2 separate regions of the Homo sapiens genome follow, and region 2 is linked to region 1. Evidence: promoter capture Hi-C in human tissues and cell types (Jung and others, 2019). All regions are on one chromosome and are shown on one strand. Each heading gives the region's core, a stretch centred on a gene start or on the middle of the fragment in contact. The rest is flanking DNA. Distances are from core to core; before and after follow the strand shown.

Region 1 (2,730 bases), core at 86-2,585:
GACCCAGAGATGTTGAGTAAGTTGCCTAAGGCTACAGAGCTAGCGTAGAGCTTGGATTTGAATGTAAGCGTTTGACTTTGAAGAAAATGCTTTTTCCGTACTAGGCTGCTTCTTAGTAATGACCCTCAAACGGAGGAATGCAATTGTCAAGTTTTAGAGTGAGCAATCAGGTTGCAATGCAGAGTTGGCTTTGTGGGAGTCAAGACTAGAGCCCTGATTGCTAGTTAAGGGACTATGGAAATTCTCCTTGCAAGAGGTAGAGTGAACATGAACTTGGCAGTGGCAGTGGAATGGAGGGCAATGTGTGGATTTGAGAAACATTTGGGAGTTAGAATAGGCAGGGCCTTTGATTGATTTGATGTAGAGGTAACTGTATGTTTGACTGGAATAAATCCCAGACCCAGTTCTGGGTTTAAATTTGATGTGTAATCTTGGTCATTTAATTTATTGTCTTTGCACTTTAGCTCTTCTGTTTCAAATGAGTTACATTATAACCCTGACATTGAGAATCTGCTGGAGAATTTGAAATGGCATATATAAGGTGGCTGGTGCAACATAAATAGGAGCAGCTGAATACATGATAAAATTATATTAGGCTGTTGGATTTTAAAGGATTGATCTAACTTTAAAAGTCTTATTTGAAAATGTACCTGCTCTTGGAAAGGGTCACATCTTGATATTAGCCAGTGCCTCAACGTTTTCAGTTAGTACTCAAGAGAAATTATGGCACCAGAGGAGATGAGGGTCGGAGTGGGGAGAATGGAGAGGGAATGGCACCCGTAGGCAAGAGAAAGATGCCCTGATAAGGAGGCCAAGAACAGCTCCTGATTTCATAGTTTTACCTTGAAAAAGCTGGTGTTTGAAAAGCTTTTGGGAGGAAAAACAGAAGTGGTAGTCTTGGAAACCAAGACCAAAACCAGAACAGGTGAAGTATTGGCCATTGGCTGAATTATCCAGATAGCTCCTGCTTTCCCCTTATGTTCAATAGTCTTTTGTAGTCCCATGGGCATTGACAGTAAAATAAGAAGAAGCATCTTTTAGAGAACAGTAAGAAAAGATAAAATATCCCTCTAAATGCTTACCTCATTGGTTTTGGCCAAGTCCTTTATGATGTCTGCTTGTTTTTCATCCTGGGGCTTCACGCGGAACACCTTCTCCCTTTGTGGAGGCAAATGAAAAAAAAAAAGTGAACTGTAAGGAAACAACCTTTAATTCTCTTCTACACAGAGACTGGAACACAGGAAGTAAGATTTACCTGTCAAAGCGGACAGGAGCAATTGCAAGAGTGGTAGCAATCAAACCCACAGGCAGGATGAGCCTCATGGTTCTTCTTTGCCTGCCTTGAGACCCTCTGGCAGTTTTATGCCTCAGCCCTTATCTTGATGAGCAGCTGATTTCCTCTTAGGGTTCTGTTGCACAAACTGTTCCCCTTCTTCCCCCACACCAGGTTTTTTTTTTCCAGCTGGAGAGGGAAAAACACTAACCCACCAAGCACATGCTACTTATCTACCTTTTGCAATAGGAAATACCCATTTTACAGATACAGGATGGGAAGCAAATGCCTTTAGCAAATAACTTGGCCAAGGTAACAGAGAAAGTATGTTCACAGAGCTGGGATTTACTAGTTCTATCTGTTCTAAAATACTACTCTACCATTCTGCTTGAATTGAATGATGGAAGAAATTAGTTTTAAAATTTGCACTTGGAGACTGAGATGAATTTGGGTATCTGGCCATAAAATCTTGGTGAGTGGTTCGTAATAATGTAAAATATATTTTTGAAGCTAGAATGTAAGTTGTGAAATTAAAAACATTTAAATTGACTGGGCACGGTGGCTCACGCCTGTAATCCCAGCAGTTTGGGAGGCCGCGGCGGGTGGATCATCTGAGGTCAGGAGTTCAAGACCAGCCTGGCCAACGTGGTGAAACCCTGTCTCTACTAAAAAATACAAAAATTAGCCGGGCGTGGCGGCAGGTGCCTTAATCCCAGCTACTTGGGAGGCAAAAAAAACCCCAAAAATTTAAATTACAAAATATAAATGTACTAAAAATGCTGTAAGTACTATGGCGAACATTGAAATGTTCACCATTTAGATTTTACAATGATAACATTTTTGTTATATTTTTCCTGTACTTCTCTGGGTAAAGAAATAAACACTAAAGACCTAAAGCACTGCCCTAACTCTTTGCCCTTCTCTTCTCTCTGTCCTCAGAGGTGACCCCTATTTCTAAGGCAACTTGAGAACTACCTGACAGCAAGAAAATATCAATGCTGTAATGTTTATTAATTGGACACTGTCTTCAGAGCCTGGATGCTGTAATTGCCAAATAATGCCTTTTGAGAGTTGAATTAATGAAAGCCACCTATAGACCATTCACAACCATCTCTGGAGGGATGTTTAGTCTTGAACACAACTTGGTTAATTATGGGAGAATAACACCTTTACCTAGAATCATAGGTAACCTAAAAGAGTAAGTGAATTTATCTAATCAGTTAACTTATTAGAATTTCCTTTTTGAAAACCACCTCTTCACATTGACAAACGTATAGCTGACTGTAGATAAAACTTCTCAGAGTCACGCTTATGTACTATCAAAATAGTGTGGTTGGAGACACGCCCCTGTTATATATACAGCAGCAGTAATTCCATTCTTCTCTATCTGATGGGTGTGTGGTAGAACTCGGGACTTTTTTTTATTTCCCCAAATGGATTTTCCGGCTCCAGCCTTG
Region 2 (2,730 bases), core at 92-2,591, 510 kb after region 1:
TAGATACTGCCTTAATCAAATGATGGAGGCTAATACCACCAGTGATGTTATGTTGGTATCATGTACTCTCTAATAGTATGCAAGAGAAGGGCACTTTGCCTCTATGGTACTCACTTCCAAAACCCACAACCTCAGTCTGAAAAAGAGGAAATTCTACATTGAAGACATGCTTCAAAGTTCTCAAAGTTTTGAAAACCTGAGAAACTGCCACAGGTCAGAGGAGACTAAGGAGGCATGATGATTAAAAGTGTTGTTACAGCATCCTGTATTGGATTCAGGAATATGAAAAAGACATTAGTAATTTGCCAGTGTTAATTTTCTGGTTTTGACATATGTGCCATGATTATTATATGAAATATTAACATTAGGGGCAAATGAGTCAAGGTATACGAGAACTCGGTAGTGTCATCCAAACTTATTCCAATGTAAAAACAAAAGTTTATTTAAAAAATCTCTGGTTCTTACTTTTACACTGTTGGTGGGACTGTAAACTAGTTCAACCATTGTGGAAGACAGTGTGGTGATTCCTCAAGGATCTAGAAATAGAAATACCATTTGGCCCAGTCATCCCATTACTGGGTATATACCCAAAGGATTATAAATCATGCTGCTATAAAGACACATGCACACATATGTTTATTTGCTATTCACAATAGCAAAGGCTTGGAACCAACCCAAATGTCCATCAATGATAGACTGGATTAAGAAAATGTGGCATATATACACCATGGAATACTATGCATCCATAAAAAAGGATGAGTTCATGTCCTTTGTAGGGACATGGATGAAGCTGGAAACATCATTCTGAGCAAACTATCGCAAGGACAGAAAACCAAACACCGCATGTTCTCACTCATAGGTGAGAATTGAACAATGAGAACACTTGGACATAGGATGGGGAACATCACACACTGAGGCCTGTCATGGGGTGGGGGGAATGGGGAGGGATAGCATTAGGAGATATACCTAATGCAAATGACGAGTTAATGGGTGCAGCACACCAACATGGCACATGTATACATATGTAACAAACCTGCACGTTATGCACATGTACCCTAGAACTTAAAGTATAATAAAAAAAATCTCTGGTTCTTGATTATCAAATATAGTTGTGTATAAGAACTACTATAAAAACTTTTTAAAAACATGTATTTCAGGGCTATATCCTTGGAGATACTGATTCTGTTGGCCTGGACAGAGTTCAAGAAGCTGTACTTTTTAAAGACCCTCTTCAGAAAGATTCTGACATGCTGCTGGGTTTGGGAATAACAGTTCTACAGAATTAAGCAAAGTAGATTGCACACTATCCCAGGAATTTGTGGGCAACTTGAGCCTTTAAGCACTCACATTCTTTCCTCACAACCAGAAAATAATTTCATCTTTGCTTAGCTCACAGGGCTTTCTGAAAGTCTTAGATTTTGCTTCATGTGTTACTCACCCATTATCTTTACTCTCTGTCTCTCTCTCTTTTTTTTTTCTGTTTCCTGGAAGGAAACATAAGTTGAGGTATATAGATTTTTCAAATAGTGAATTTCCAGCCCATTCTAAACTTACTCTTTCATAGTGAGAAACCTAATGAGACAGCAGCCTGGGTTAAACAGACCAGATGTTTGAAAATAAAAATTTTATTTACTCCCAGTTTGTGGGTTCATCAAAGTACTGGTAAGTATTGTCCATCTCATGTGTTTTAATAAATAGATAAGAACCAAAGTAAGCTGATCTTTAATTGATTTTAGGAAAATAGAAGGTGCTCTTAAGACAATCTGTAGTCCCTTGATAGGTTAAATAGTGTTTTTTTTTTAAATTAAAATAGCAAAGCTTTCCACATATTTTATTTGATTTAATCCTCAGAATAGTCCTGTGAAGTAGGTAGTTATCAACTCCACTTCACAAATGAGACGATTTGGGCACAGAGAGGTTAATTAATTTTTCCAAGATCATACAGCTAATAAATGGTGAGGCCAGGTTTACATTCCAGGATGTTGACACTCAGGGACTACTTTCTGATCCACTGTGATGTACTGCTGCCCTATAGAAATATGTTTGGCACAACTATAAAGTAGTGAAAAGAATTTGTTACTCCAGCTGGGTCCAGACTACTCTAAATGCTAAAATTGTAAAATTGGTGTGCATGGCTGTATACCACTTGCAGAACAGTTAACTTTAGATTTCTAACATATTTTGCCATAGTTTAAAAGTTCTCATCAAGTATGGCCAATGTTGCATGCGTGTGTGTGTGTGTGTGTGTGTGTGTGTGTGTGTGATTTTTCTGTCAAGGCTTTTTGGTATGCTATATTTGATTCTTATATACTAGGCAGCTAGTTTCGAGATTCTCCAAGGATAGGAAGATTTGGGATCCAAGACAGTATACTGTGTGTTAGGTGTCCGGAGGTAGGGAGTAACATTTTAAAAAGCAGCAATTTCTTTTTAAAGGGTCAAGAAAGTCAGGTAGAAATCATGACAGGCTGACATCAACTAACCCTCTAACCCCAGGCCTCTACAAAACTAACTACACTAACCTCAGGTCTCTACAAAATGACTGGGTATTTTTGCTTGTAATGCATTCTCATTGAATTTCACAAAACAAATAAATAAAACAAGCCTGTGTTGTCACTTCTGAAAAACTCCAGTCTATTACAATGAAGAGAGAGCACCTGTTTAAAAATATTCTGGGTGATAAATCACAGAAGGTTGCATTAATCAAGGCAGCCTAAAGCTGATAAGTGCAAT

Evidence for each region. Contacts are between HindIII fragments. The study calls those that stand out against the background at their distance.
Region 2: a fragment that was not itself captured here is called in contact with the fragment with the promoter of CPA3 in region 1 in 1 of the 25 tissues and cell types used here (mesendoderm cells).

What each region holds. Positions count from the first base shown.
Region 1 is chr3:148,863,901-148,866,630 of GRCh38, reverse strand. CPA3 (carboxypeptidase A3) reads right to left here and starts at 1,335. Exons shown (of 11, transcript NM_001870.4): 1 at 1,256-1,335; 2 at 1,083-1,158. The coding sequence starts at 1,323. The HindIII fragment of the contact is 8,383 bases long and covers 1-2,730 here.
Region 2 is chr3:148,358,886-148,361,615 of GRCh38, reverse strand. The region is part of intron 3 of LINC02046 (long intergenic non-protein coding RNA 2046); the gene reads right to left. Among named protein-coding and RNA genes, the nearest start is that of LINC02046, 79 kb to the right of the region's middle. The HindIII fragment of the contact is 6,456 bases long and covers 1-2,730 here.